3 separate regions of the Homo sapiens genome follow, and regions 1 and 2 are each linked to region 3. The links are contacts of gene promoters, found by promoter capture Hi-C in human tissues and cell types (Jung and others, 2019). All regions are on one chromosome and are shown on one strand. Each heading gives the region's core, a stretch centred on a gene start or on the middle of the fragment in contact. The rest is flanking DNA. Distances are from core to core; before and after follow the strand shown. Region 1 overlaps CAMKK2 (calcium/calmodulin dependent protein kinase kinase 2). Region 2 holds the start of CAMKK2 (calcium/calmodulin dependent protein kinase kinase 2). Region 3 holds the start of MLEC (malectin).

Region 1 (4,577 bases), core at 212-2,711, 570 kb before region 3:
GACCTCAGGTGATTCGCCCACCTCGGCCTCCCAGAGTGTTGGGATTACACTGGCGTGAGCCACCGTGCCCAGCCCCCTGCCGTGTTTTCTTTGACCAGTGGATCCTGGGCCAATTTGAGCACTAGAAGTCAAGCCAGACTGTGGGCCTGGGGACGTCAGAAATCCCTGGTTCTTTGCCTTCTGATGGAAATTTAGCAAAGCAGGACCTTGGCCAGCTTGGTTCAGTGGACTGTTCCTCTCCCCAGCTCTAATACTAGTTTCTGTCTTTCTTGGTGTTTCTGGAGGTGGTTGGGAGGTGGGGAGGACAGAGAGAGATGGATGTTCAGTTTCCCATGTAACAGTTTCACCCTTTTCTTCCCTACAGTGTTCGAACTGGTCAACCAAGGGTGAGTGTCCCAGCTCCCAGCAGGGGTGATGCAAGAAGCTTCTGTAGCTGCATAGCTGAGTGAGGTGCCACTGGGCTCTGCTCATGAGAGAGGGCAAGGGCTGGCGGGTCTGCTTTGTGTTTCACATGAGTGTCGACCTTTCAGGCCCGTGATGGAAGTGCCCACCCTCAAACCACTCTCTGAAGACCAGGCCCGTTTCTACTTCCAGGATCTGATCAAAGGCATCGAGTACTGTGAGCAGGGCCTGCGGGAGGGCTCTCACCCAGTGGGTAGTTAGCATTCTGAGCGTGGGTGCAAAGTGGAAAGTGTCTTATTTTCTTCCTGGAGCACAGGGAGGTGGGCGGGTGGATTGGGGTCCTCTAGAGGGACAGAACTAATAGGAGATACATATATATATATAAAATTATATATATAAAATTATATATATAATTATATATATAAAATTATATATAATTATATATATATAAAATTATATATAAAATTATATATATAATTATATATATAATTATATATATATAAAATTATATATATAATTATATATATATAAAATTATATATATATAAAATTATATATATAATTATATATATAAAGGGGAGTTTATTAAGTATTAACTTACACGATCACAAGGTCCCACAATATAGTCTGTCTGCAAGCTTGAGGAGCAAGGAGAGCCCATCTAACTCTCAAAACTAAAGAACGTGGAGTCTGACGTTTGAGGGCAGGAAGCATCCAGATAGGAAAAAAACATAGGCTGGGAGGCTAGGCCAGTCTCACCTTTCACGTTTTTCTGCCTGCTTTATATTCGCTGGCAGCTGATTAGATTGTGGGTCTGCCTTCCCCAGCCCACTGACTCAAATGTTAATCTCCTTTGGCAACACCCACACAGACACATCCAGGATTAATACTTTGTATCCTTCAGTCCAATCAAGTTGACACTCAGTATCAACCATCATAGTGGGAAACAGAATTGTGTGAAATGCAGAATCAGGGCCAGCTGCAGAGAGCCACCCTATGGCCATGGTCCAGGCGAGCCAAAACCCTTCTTCCTGCCACTTGGCAAAATGAAGAGCAGTAGCAATAGTGACTATTTAGCACTTTCTATGTGCACCAGGCACTGTTTGGGGCTCTATTTTTTTTGTCTCTTATTCCTCCCAGTGACCCTGGGATCAGGGTCCTGTTCACCTCCTGGAACCTTAGCTTCCTCATCTGTAAAATGGGGATAACATATCTCTCACCAGGGCTGAGATCAGCCAGTACACATCAGTGGTTTGATTGGCAGGTGTCCTTTCTGCTTCTGCTTGTTAAACATCTTAGCTCTTTTTTTCCTTTGAGATTCTTGCCCTGTTGCCTGGGCTGGAGTGCAGTGGCGCGATCTCAGGTCACTGCAACCTCTGCCTCCTGGGTTCAAGCAATTCTCATGCCTCAGCCTCCCAAGTAGCTGGGACTACAGGTGTACGCCACCATGCCCGGCTAATTTTTGTATTTTTTGTAGAGATGGGGTTTCGCTATGTTGGCCAGGCTGGTCTTGAACTCCTGACCTCAGGTGATCCCCCTGCCTTGCCTCCCAAAGTGCTGGGATGACAGGCGTGAGCCACCGTGCCCGGCCACCACGTTATCTCTTATCCCTGCCTGTCACATAGGATGGTTGTGAGGTTTAATTAAATGTAAAATGTGAATGTGAAACACAACGCAGGGCCGGGCCCCTCACTTGGTGCTCTGCTGCTGCTTTCACTGAAATCGTCTTCATCATCATCATCACCCCAGAAATGGCAGTTGGGTCTTCCAGGCCATAGAACTGTCCTGTACCATGGGCTGATATCCAGCCAGGAGGAGTTAGCCAAGCCCCGAGTTCTGTGTGTGGTTCACATTTCAAATCGGCCTGCTCAGGTCATTGTCGGTTTGGTAAATCAGTTGAGTATTGGCTGTTGGTAAATGAAACTATGTTTCACTGTCAGTTTCACAACTAGCTGTGAGCCAAGCCCAGCAAAAACTTTCCATGCACTGTCACTTGTGACTTAATAAATAACAGGCGATTACGAATTGCTATTGGCAGTGTTTTATGTGTCATTGTTGAGAAGGGGTGGGGTGATGGTGGGCTGGGACTTCCTTGAAGACACTTTTCCCCTCATCTTTTAGAGCATGTCAGTGCCCAGCGGGTTTGGGGAGTGGAAGGTTGGAAAAGGCCTGGGGCTGTGGGAGACAAGGCATCAGAGGGGTGCCATGCCTGTGTCTCCAGGCCATGTGGCCGCATAGAGGTGCTCACGAGGTTTTCCTGCCCCTATCTCCCACCTGCTGTCTACGCCTCCCCAGTACACTACCAGAAGATCATCCACCGTGACATCAAACCTTCCAACCTCCTGGTCGGAGAAGATGGGCACATCAAGATCGCTGACTTTGGTGTGAGCAATGAATTCAAGGGCAGTGACGCGCTCCTCTCCAACACCGTGGGCACGCCCGCCTTCATGGCACCCGAGTCGCTCTCTGAGACCCGCAAGATCTTCTCTGGGAAGGTAAGCTTGGGCCTGCCTCAGCCACAGAGTTCTGCCTGTGTTAGTGTCTTCTGGATTGTAAGCAGCAGAAACCCAACGCACACAGGCTTAAACAGTGAATCCCCTGGATCAAGATACTGAGGGGTAGGCTTCAGGCTTGGCTAGATCCAGGGACTCAAACAGAAACCATCTCCCGCCATCTTTCAGTTGTTTTTCTTATTTGGTTTCCTCCACAGGTGGGTCAGGCACCCAGGGACCAGGTTACTTTCTATCATTTGCCAACCTCAGTGGCAAGAGCATTCCTCATTCTGAATAGTGCCTGTGAAAACCCTGGGGTTGGCTCTGATTGGCCCAACATGGGTCATGTGCCCATGCTTGAACCAATCACTGTGGCTGGGGGTAGTGGTGCTCTCATTGGCCTGGCCTGGATCCTGTGCCTGCCCCAGAGCCTAGGAGACAAGATTGGTCCCGCCCCAACTCCAAGGGCTGAAAGTCAAGAGGTGGTTCCCCAAAGGAAAACTGGAGGATTGGAGGCTGGACCACCCCTTATGCCCTCACACTAAGCTCTTTTTCTTGCAGGCCTTGGATGTTTGGGCCATGGGTGTGACACTATACTGCTTTGTCTTTGGCCAGGTAAGAGGGCGGGGTGTCTGTCCCCTCAGTACTGCTGGGTGGCCCCTGGGTTAATAGTCACCCTTGCGGGGAGACAGTACTTACTTATTTAAGAGTTATTTTAGGCTGGGCATGGTGGCTCACGCCTGTAAACCCAGCACTTTGGGAGGCTGAGGCAGAGGTTAGGAGTTGGAGACCAGCTTGGCCAACATGGTGAAACCCCGTCTTTACTAAAAATACAAAAAATTAGCCAGGCGTGATGGCGCATGCCTATAGTCCCAGCTACTCTGGAGGCTGAAGCAGGAGAATCGCCTGAACCCAGGAGGCGGAGCTTGCAGTGAGCTGAGATTGCACCATTGTATTCCAGCCTGGGCAACAAGAGCGAGACTCCGTCTCAAAAAATAAAATAAGAGAAGAGTTATTTTATTTCTACACCTAGATCTCAATGTGAAAAAGGATGCCTTCCTAAATATACATGTGTATGTATGTCATGATCATATCTATGAAAAAATGATCTGTTAAAACAGAAGGATTGGCAGAGGCTCTAGAGTTTATAAATAGTTGATAAATTTAGGGCAAGGACAGCAGTTCTGCCACCTCTCCCATTTCTGAGCCCAAGGCAGACATCACTAATCAATAACTGTGCTCGTTCCTCCTGAGCCTGATACTGCTCTGATGTTCTTTCCGTCAGGGTATTCCTAGAAGCTTTTGTCAGAGGGGTAGCATTGGAATGGAAGTTAAAAGCTGTTTACCATTATTGATTTAGGGAGTGCTGTTTGGGCTTTTCTGTTGTTGTTATTTTGTTATTATTGATATCTGGGGGCTTCTCTCTCTATTTTTTTTTTTTTTTTTTTTGAGATGGAGTCTTGCTCTGTCACCCAGGCTGGAGTGTAGTGGTGCGATCTCGGCTCACTGCAACCTCCGCCTCCCGGGTTCAAGCCATTCTCCTGCCTCAGCCTCCTGAGTAGCTGGGACTACAGATGCCAGCCACCACACCCGGCTAATTTTTGTATTTTTGTAGAGATAGTGTTTTGCCATGTTGGCCAGACTGGTTTCAAACTCCTGACCTCAAATGATCTGCCAGCCTGGG
Region 2 (4,777 bases), core at 362-2,861, 610 kb before region 3:
GAGGATCACCTGAGCCTGGGGAGGTCGAGGGTGCAGCGAGCCGTGATCGTGCTACTGCACTCCAGCCTGGGCAACACAGAGAGACCCTGTCTCAAAACAAACAAACAAACAAACAAACAAACAAACAAAAAAAACAAAGAAAAAAAAATGGGAGTGGGCCGGGCGCGGTGACTCACACCTGTAATCCCAGCACTTTCGGAGGCCAAGGCGGGTGGATCACGAGGTCAGGAATTCAAGATTAGCCTGGACAACATGGTGAAACCCCATCTCTACGAAAAATACAAAAATTAGCCAAGTATGGTGGCCGGCGCCTGTAATCCCAGCTACTCGGGAGACTGAGGCAGAGAACTGCTTGAACCTGGGAGGCAGAGGTTGCAGTGATCCGAGATCGCGTCACTGCACTCCAGCGTGGGCGACAGAGCGAGACTCCGTTTCAGAAAAGAAAAAAAAAAAAAAAAAAAAGGGAGTCGGGGTGGAGCTCTCATTGGCTCGTTGCATGTGAGTGTCCCTACGGCCTAGAAATACAAGAGAAGCACATCGGAACGGGCTGGAAATCCACCCAGTTAACTAGAGGGCTTTGAACCTTTTATTAACTTGGAGGTTGACTCTCCTGTCAACTCGATTCCCTTTTGGCTGTTTGGCAGGGTCAGTGAGACATCCCCTGGGTCGCTCGACCCCGTAGGACGGTTCAGGGAGCCCTCCAGGTCTTCGTTTCTCCTCTTCCCCGCACAGTGCTGTTATCCAGCTGGGGGATCCAACGCACACTTAAGGCTCCAGCAAAGTAAGTGCCAAAAAGGGGAGAATGGGAAGAATATGCTGTATTTCACAAAAAGCATCTAAGTAGCCATCTGGAAAAGCCAGAATGAACTTCAATGGTGCATCCAGGTGGGCTGGGGATGGGAGAGGAACGCCTTCCCCCAGCCTTTAGGGCCGGCCCTGAGCAAGTGGTCAGTCGGCAGGCAGCTGCGGAAGGGGGCTCCCCCGAGTCGGTGGTGGCCCAAAGTCCAGGCCGCATCCACCGCCCGGCGCCTAGCGCAGGGGCAGCAGCCGGGTCGCCACAGGAGGGGCCCCGGGTGTTCTTGCCGGCTTGGGGGAACTTTCCCAGGGTCAGCCCGGAGGCGCCCTGCAGCCCCGGCATTTGGCTAAACAAAGCAAGCGCTGCCGGCGCGGCCCGCCCGAGGGCGCCGCGGGAAGAACCTGGGCAGGTGCGCGCCGCGGGCGAGCGGGTACAAAGTTGCGGCGCCACCTCCTGCGCTCCGCGCCCCTCCAGGCTCTCCTCCCAGCCGCCTCCGATCCTCCCGGCCGGGCCTCTCTTCCCCCGTTCTTCGCCTCCTCCCTTTCTGCTCCTTGCCCTTCGCCTCTTCGCTACTTTCGTCTTTGCAGGCTCCCGCCTCCCCACCCCTCCCCGGCGCAGGGCCGAGCCGGCGGGGGCGCGCAGGGGGCGGTGCGCGGCGGGCGCGGGCGGTTCCGCTTTCGGGTTTCCCGCCGCCGTGGCCAATCCCCGCGCTGCCCGGGGCGGCGACGCGCCCAAGCCGAGCCGGGCGGCTCCTCCCGCCCCCGCCCCCCGCGCGCCCGCCGCCCGGGCGGAGGAGAGGAGCGCGCGGCCGCGCAGAGCAAGCTGAGCCGAGCCGAGCCGAGCTGGGGGCGCAGAGCGCGGGAGGCGGCGGCGGCGCGGAGCCCAGGTGAGCTGGCGGTAGCCGGGCCCGGGGCAAGGGACGCAGCCGCCGCGGCCCCGGGCGCCCGCTCCGTTTCCCTCTCGAGGCGGGGGACCGCCGCCGGCATGGCACACAAAGCCCGGAGGCTGGCCTGGGGCTCCCAACACGGAGGGACCCCACGTGCGCCTCCCCACGCCCCGCCACGTGGAGGGACACGGTCCCCGACAGCCCTTCCCCCGCGTCCTCTGGGCGCCCTGGGCCTCGGGATGGCCTCCTCGGCTGGGCCGCGCCCTGTCCGGGTGGCAGGGGCGGTCCTGGAGTTTGGAACCGGGGTCACCGGGGGCCGGGTCCGTCAGGGTTCGTGGAGGCGGCCTAGGCCCAGCCCCTCGCGTTTGACAGGTGGGGAAATCTGGAGCGTTCCGGGGAAGAGAGGACCAGCGGACTTGGAGCACCCCCACCCCGCAGCCTGCCTGTCTCGGGGCAAACCCAGGCCCTGGTGGCTTGGACACCAGGTGGCAGGACCCTAGGCCAGCAGTTGTGGGGACCTAGGGGACCTTTGGCTGTCTTCGGTCTGCCCTTTGACCACCCCCACCGCACCTCTTCTCTCAGCCGGAGCCTCACAGGCTTGGTCCTTCTGACCTAAATTCACCTCGGGGTTGCAGTATGCTGTGAATGCGGAGAGGCGTCCGCCTGACTCTCAGGGACACTGGACCCAGCCCCTCTCAGCATTGGGGCTCTGTGCCTGGGGTGCCACCCGACCCAGCCTTGAGCTTTTCCTGGCTTTCCCCCAGCCCCTGCACTGCCTAGCTGGGGAAGTGGGTGCTTTCACAGCTCTGCCAGCCTGCCCTCCTGGCCACTCTCACTTAGTGCTGGACAGGATGCAGCTCAGCCCCTCCGATCTCCCCGAGAAGGCTGAGCTTTGGGGAGGGCGTCTCAGTGCTATCAGCAAGAGAGGGATACCTGGCCTCCGGATGGGACCTGCAGCGTCCATCTCCCTACAGGCTACTTTTACCTTCCCCAGCCTGGTGTTTGGAGTCTCCACGCAGGGGATAGAAACTTCAGGTGCCCTAGAGCTGTGCTGCCATTTACCACTCCCCCTCCCCTAGCTCTGCCCCCAGAGGAGAGAGAAGAGGATGGCTTTATGTCCCCATAAGCTCCTTTGTTCCTTGGAGGAGGCGGGGGCTGCAACAAGGGGAGGGCTTTGGGGGAGTTAGCCACCCTCTTCCCTAATCACCCCACAAAAACATGCAGTTTCAGAATAAATAGTGTGCATGCCATGCAAATGCAGCTTTAGGGCAAGCCCCACATACCCCTTCCAGACTGCTGCTCATACACCCTTCCTATGGAGGAAGCAGGCATTGGTGACACACACCCTTCCTATGGAGGAAGCAGGCATTGGTGATGAGGACGCAAAACATATTTTTGTAATGAAGAGTAATAGCCATCATTTGATGAGCCCCTAACTTGGATAATAATAAGAATACTTATTTATTTATTTTGAGACGGAGTCTCTGTTGCCCAGGGTGGAGTGCAGTGGCACAATCTTGGCTCACTGCAACCTCCGCCTCCCGGGTTCAAGCGATTCTCATGCCTCAGCCTCTCCAGTAGCTGGGATTACAGGCGCCCACCACCATGCCTGGCTAATTTCTGTATTTTTAGTAGAGAAGGGGTTTCACCATGTTGGTCAGGCTGGTCTTGAACTCCTTACCTCAAGTGATCCGCCTACGTCAGTCTCCCAAGTGCTAGGATTACAGGCATGAGCTGCCACCTGGCCCTGGACAATAATAATAATAACAGTATTAAAAACTAACATCTATTGAGTTCTTGCTGCCTGCCAGATTCTGTGCTATGTGTTACATGCATTATCTCATTTAATGCCTACCAAATCCTACAACGTAGGGAATTTTAACCCCATAGTAGAGATTAGGAGACTGAGGTTTACAGAAATCCTGCAGTGTTGCTAGGATTTAGCCCCATTTTATAGAAGGGCTCAGAGAAGTTAAGTAACTTGCTCAGGGTCACACAGCCAGTGCAGGCATGTCAGGCCTTAGAACCTTTGTGCACCTGTTCAAGAGCAGAGACCCTGGCAAGGCTGCCCTGAGCTTCTTGAGGAGCCCAGGAGTTTGTTTTGTTTTGTTTATTCACTACATCAGTGTTTGCCGATGCAGCTCTATGCAGGGTCTGTAGTACTGCCCATCCTTAGATATGGCTAGTGGGCTGGTAGCTAAATATAGTCACTAATAACAATGCACTAGTTCTCATCCGGGGGTGGTCCCACCCTCCTGGCAGGGATTTGGGAAAGTGTGGGGGCGACTTTTGGTTGTCAAAATGATGCTAAGCACTCCTGGCTTTTAGTGGGCGGGAGTCAGGGATGCCTACTAAAGTGTCCTGTAGGCAGGCCAGGGCCACGACATAAAGAATCACCCTCCCCTGGCTGGGCGTGGTGGCTCACGCTTGTAATCCCAGCACTTTGGGAGGCCGAGGCAGGAGGATCACCTGAGGTCAGGAGTTCGAGACCAGCCTGGCCAACATGGTGAAACCCCATCTCTACTAAAAATACAAAAATTAGCTGGGCGTGGTGGCACACACCTGTAATCCCAGCTACTTGGGAGGCTGAGGCAGGAGAATCACTTGAACCTGGAAGGCGGAGGTTGCAGTGTGCTGAGATCGTGCCATTGCACTCCAGCGTGGGGCACAAGAAGGAGACTTCCTCTCAAAAAACAAACAAAAAACAAAAAAAAATCACCCTCCCCCAAATGCCAGCAGTGCCACTGTTGAGAAACACCACAAGGAATGAGTGCTGTTGTGATCGAAGGAGCACAGGGCACTGAGGGTTCTGGAGAAATCTCCTCAGACTGGTGTGAATCTGGGAGGCTCCCTGAAGGAGGTGTCATTTGTGCAGAGCCTTGAAGGATGGGCCAGAAATGGGAGATGGGATGGGAGTAGGAGGGGAAGGGGATAGGGTGGGGTGACCTAGCAGGGAACTTTGTGCAGTAGCCGGGGGTTTCCTCTTTGAGAACCTCATCCTAGATGGAAGATGAGTGGCCAGACACCACTCTCAGGGGAGAGGACCAGGCCAAGTGGGGCAGGCCAAGCCTGTTTTCAAGGCATTTTGGCTCAAA
Region 3 (4,941 bases), core at 503-3,002:
TCTGGCTTTGGCTGCTGTTACCGCTGCTAAAGACTGGAGCCCTGAGTCAGCTGAACCCAGGCTACTGTGATCTACATGCCAGGGCTCAACAAACTCCAAGACAAACATAGAACTTCACAAAACAGCCCTGTGTCCCAAGACCCTCACATGTGTGAAAGGCAATAAACTCCTTAATATAACAAACTCCAGGACACTGCAATCGACTTGGGAAGAACTAACTATTTTAGTAAAAGCAAGAGCCAAATCTGGGCATCGCAGAAAAAGAATGAGAGAAAGTGAAGAGTGAGTCTGTCTCCTGGTTGTCTGGAGGTGGCATACTGCCAATTTGGTAGCCTCTGAACCCAGCATACAGTATCAATCTCCTAGCAAAGAACTTCCTTCTGAAACCTGTTTTCCAATCCCTCCAACAGAAGAAACAAAGATTATAAAGCTGATCTTCCAAAACGGTGGTCTCGGGGCAACCTACATCACAAGCCCCTGGTGCAGAAACCTGGATCCCAGCAAAAAAGCTCAATCTACTATAATCAATTTCGAGTGGGGACTAGGAATCTGCATTTTTAACCAGCTGCCCTGGCAATTCTGACACACACTAACTTTGGGAAGGGAGCAGCTCCGTTAAAAACCACTGTTGCCCAGCAAGTTAAGTCACAATCATTTTCCCCCTAAGCTGGAATTAGAACTCTCAGGATCACCTAGGGGAGGTTGTAAGCATTCTCTGATAGACCATTCGGATTCTTACACTGGTTGACCCAGTTCACACACAGCCACCAGCCTCACGTGCAGGATGGCTTCGATAGAACCACCCTCTGGGGGCGGCCTGCCGATTCTACTTTTAAGCACACATATTCTTCGCTCGAAAAGAGGGCGGGGGAGGAGGCTACAATCAAACTTTCCTGGCCCATTCTCTTCGAAGATTCCTTCCTATTCTGGCTAAGAATCAAGCCCCGCTCCTGCAGAAGGGGCAAGGAAAGCGGCCGATTCCTGGGTCGACGAGAATCTCCCAAGAACTGTCTCGACAGGAGAAGCAGGGGCACCCATGACCTACAACCCGCGAGGCCTGGAGGTAGCAAAAGGCCGCCTTCGTCATTTCTCTCCCAGCTTGGATGGGAGTGAGGGGTTGAGAAAATGCAGGATGAGAAATCCAAATATAACTAACTTCTGGCCAACTCTCTGCCTGTATGACTCTAGGTACCTTGGAGCCAGTGCCAGGCCCTGAGCTCAGAGCGGGCCCCCGAAGAAGCTGCAGAGAGAAACTTCGCTCCAGAGACGCGGCCCCAGGGTCGAAAGGGGCTCGGGGCCCGCAGCCCCCGGCCGGCTGCGCCCAGCACAGCAGGCCCTGGATCCCGCGGCTCGGCAGGGGGACTCTCACCTCGGCCCACCCGGCCTTCCAAAGGGTCCTTGCGGAAGTGGATCCCGTGCACGTCCACATGCGCCTCTCCACCCGCGTTGACCGCCCAAATGACGCTCTCGGGCAGCCCGGCCCCCGCCGCGCCGGCCACGCCGGCCACGCCGAGCCCGGGTCCCCGGATCGCCGGCGGCAGCAGCAGCAGCAGCAGTCGCAGGAGCGCCACAGCGGTTCCCTCAACCGCCCAGGCTCCCAGCATGGCGGCCACCACCACGGGGGCAGCCCCCGCCGACCCTCGTCCTCGGCCGGCTGCCAGGCCACCCCGGACTCAGAAAAACAGCGCCACGGGCCGCTCCGCCTGAGCCGCCGGGGACATGTCGCTCTCAGGCCTCCTTCTTCTCAGCCACGGGTACCGCCTCCCACCTCAGGAACAACCTACCCCGCCGCCCTGCCCCCGGCCACGACGCTGCAGCCAATCAGCGCCCGGCCCTCATTAATTACCCACCACCCCGCCGGGAGGCGCCCGCTCATTGGCTGTCAGGCGCGGGAAAGGGCGTGGCTTCTCCCAGGCGCCGGCCCAGCAGTCGGGCACCAGATGGAGCGCGCGCAGAGGGAGTGAGTTCGGTTGAAGCGGCGGTTCGATGCGGAAGTGGCGGGTGCAGCGCCCAGGCGGCCCCGGAATCCCACAGCTGAATGGGAAAGGTGGCCTGGGGGGGGAAGGTTTAGGGTAGGGCGCACTGACATGTCGCCAGCACTTCCGGTGCTCTAGCTCCTGAGACCAAATAGGCTCTGGAGGGGGCGTGGCCGACTTTCCCGCCCCCTCTTCTTTTCTCAGGGAGCAGCATGAGCATAAATTCTAGTAGGAGAAGCAATGGACACTCTCCAGACCTAAGAGACGCAGTCCTTTTCCCCGCGTGAGGGAGAGGACCCATGCTTTCCCAGAGAGGCCGCGGACACAGGTCTCCAGGGAACGAATCCCATGAGAATAAGGCCCCGCCCCCTCCCCTTAGCGGGCTCGGGGCGGGTGGTAGCGTCCAGACGGCCGTCCAATGAGAAGGCTCCAACGCAGCGGAAACGCGTGGCTTTGAGAGCGAGTGGGTGCCAGGCTGCTCGCGTCTCCATGGCGACGGCCTCTGGCCGGCCTCCGCTGCGTAGGGGCGGGACCGAGGCACCCTAGGCGCTGGCGGGAGTCGCCGCCGGCGGTGCCCAGAGTGGATACCGGGGTTGTCCCGCACGGGCACGGCCCGAACTCCCTCCCTGCTCCTTCACAGTTCACCTGGCGCTCTCCCACACTGGCGATCCCTGCGCTTCGGTCGCTGTTCAAACTCCCATTTTTCCGATGGGGAAACTGAGGCATAGAAAGGGACTGAATTTTGCCAAAGGGTCGCACCGCAAGTGTAGGGCAGAGTCAAGGCAAAAACAAAAAAAACAAAAAAACGCTTATGCATTTTCCATAAATACTGGTCGATTTAGAAATTCTCCCTAAAAGGAAAAAAATGTATCAAGTCCCTGCTACCAGGGTTGTCAGATTTGGCAGATAAAATAGGAGAAGCCCAGTTATATTTGAATTTCAGATAAGCAAATGGGACCCACTTATACTAAAAAAAAAAATGCATTGTTTATTAAAATTTAAACAACTGGACTTCTTGTATTTTATCTACCAATCCTACCTACTACTTAGGCAATGAGCTTTGTGCTACATGAACAAAAAACACACCTGGGGTCCCGCATGAGAATCATAGACTTTGCACAACCCATAATGAAATTAATTGTTTAGTTAGAACAGTGGTAAGTGCTATACGGGAACAAAACAGGGTGCCAAAATAGAGACTATCAGTGGTGGATCTAAATGCACCCAAATTCCTTCCCAGGCCCCAAATTCAGACCCCATGGGGGTAACTTTTGGAAGTGTTCCCTCCCGGTCTCACTTTCCCCCCTATTTTGCAAGCATCTGGCCTTACTTCCTCCCATAGACATGTTTCCTGTCCAAGGTGTTTCTTTTTTTTTTTTTTTCTGTCTTTTTTGGAGACAGAGTCTTGCTCTGTCGCCAGGCTGGAGTGCAGTGGTGCAATCTCGGCTCATGGCAACCTCCACCTCCCGGGTTTAGGCGATTCTGCTGCCTCAGCCTCCTGAGTAGCTGGGACTACAGGCGCGCGCCACCACACCCAACTAGTTTTTTTTATTTTTATTAGAGACCGAGTTTCACCATGTTGGCCAGGATGATCTCGATCTCCTGACCTCGGGGTCCGCGGCCTCCCAAAGTGCTGGGATTACAGGTGTGAGCCACCACACCTGGCCTCTTGGGGTTTCTAATTCTACTATTCTCTCTCTCAAACTGTCATCTTTTAAGGATCTTGACAACTCAGAGGCTTCAGTTACCCTCAAAGGAGGGGTGTGGTGCAAATGGGGAACAGAAACACAAGTAGTGGTGATGGGGCTTCCTCCCTCCAGGCAGTTGGCCTGCAGAGCCCACGTACCACTCAGGTATTGCACTGCCACCAGGCGCTCATGTTTATTTTATCCTCAAGGCAGTCTAGTCCAGGAGAAACAATCACAAAAACGGATTAAATTTTGGGGGAGGCCTCTAAAGGCTTTCTCTCAGTCCTTCGTGTCTTTGGTCACCCCAGAGGGTGAAGAAGATACCCGGCTGGCTCCTGTTATTGAGCCCTTCAGATACCATTCGTGGTTGGGCCATCTGTGTACCAAGGAGCTTGGCTCCCTTTCTGAGATCCAGCTGCTCATGAATTAGGCTGTCTTTTCAGTAAAACGTAAAGTCTGAGACCCTGGAGGCAGGGTATGGGATCCGAGCGTGGGATCTAAGACAGGCTGCCTGCATCCCATGCCTAGTCCCATTTACCCACTGTGTGGCCTTGGGCAAGTGATGTACTTCGCTGAGTTTCAGTTTCCTCAGTTGTGAAATAGAGATACAGTCATGAGTCACTTAATGACAGGGATGCGTTCTGAAAAATGCATCATTAAGCGATTTTGTCATTGTGCAGAGATCACAGAGTGTACTTACACAAACCTAGATGGGGATAGCCTGCTATACACCTAGGCTATATGGTATAGCTGATAGCTCCTACACTACAAACCTCTACAGCATGTTACCTTACTGAATACTGTAGACAGTTGAACACAATGGTAAGTATTTGCGTATCTAAACACAGATACAGTATAAACACAGTATTGGCCAGCCTAGTGGCCCATGCCTGTAATTCCAGCACTTTGGGAGGCTGAGGTGGGTGGATCACTTGAGGCCAGGAGTTCGAGACCAGCCTGACCAACATGGAAAAACCCTGTCTCTACTAAAAATACAAAAATTAGCTGGGCATGGTGGGGCGCACCTGTAATCCCAGCTATTCGGAAGGCCGAGGCAGGAGACTCGCTTGAACCCGGGAGGCAGAGGTTACAGTGAGCCGAGATCGCACCACTGCACTCTAGCCTGGGTGACAGAGTGAGATCCAGTCTCAAAAAAAAAATATATATATATATACACACACACACACACACACACACACACACAAAATTTTATTTATTTATTTATTTATTTATTTATTGTGGAGACAGATTCTCACTATGTTGTCCAGGCTGGCCTC

Evidence for each region. Contacts are between HindIII fragments. The study calls those that stand out against the background at their distance.
Region 1: a fragment that was not itself captured here is called in contact with the fragment with the promoter of MLEC in region 3 in 1 of the 25 tissues and cell types used here (dorsolateral prefrontal cortex).
Region 2: a contact is called between the fragment with the promoter of CAMKK2 here and the fragment with the promoter of MLEC in region 3, in 2 of the 25 tissues and cell types used here (liver and mesenchymal stem cells).

Annotation. Positions count from the first base shown.
Region 1 is chr12:121,251,592-121,256,168 of GRCh38, reverse strand. CAMKK2 (calcium/calmodulin dependent protein kinase kinase 2) reads left to right here. Exons shown (of 17, transcript NM_001270485.2): 8 at 365-386; 9 at 531-619; 10 at 2,697-2,896; 11 at 3,455-3,508. Among named protein-coding and RNA genes, the nearest start is that of CAMKK2, 43 kb to the left of the region's middle. RefSeq lists an enhancer at 76-576. The HindIII fragment of the contact is 4,173 bases long and covers 1-3,547 here.
Region 2 is chr12:121,293,543-121,298,319 of GRCh38, reverse strand. CAMKK2 (calcium/calmodulin dependent protein kinase kinase 2) reads left to right here and starts at 1,611. Exons shown (of 17, transcript NM_001270485.2): 1 at 1,611-1,682. RefSeq lists a silencer at 926-2,075. The HindIII fragment of the contact is 15,221 bases long and covers 1-4,777 here.
Region 3 is chr12:120,683,960-120,688,900 of GRCh38, reverse strand. MLEC (malectin) reads right to left here and starts at 1,752. Exons shown (of 5, transcript NM_014730.4): 1 at 1,370-1,752. The coding sequence starts at 1,604. LOC105370029 (a long non-coding RNA gene) reads left to right here and starts at 1,752. Exons shown (of 3, transcript XR_945449.3): 1 at 1,752-2,047. RefSeq lists silencers at 1,394-1,693, 2,534-2,633, 3,748-3,837 and enhancers at 1,448-1,949, 2,044-2,173, 2,264-2,373. The HindIII fragment of the contact is 30,224 bases long and covers 1-4,941 here.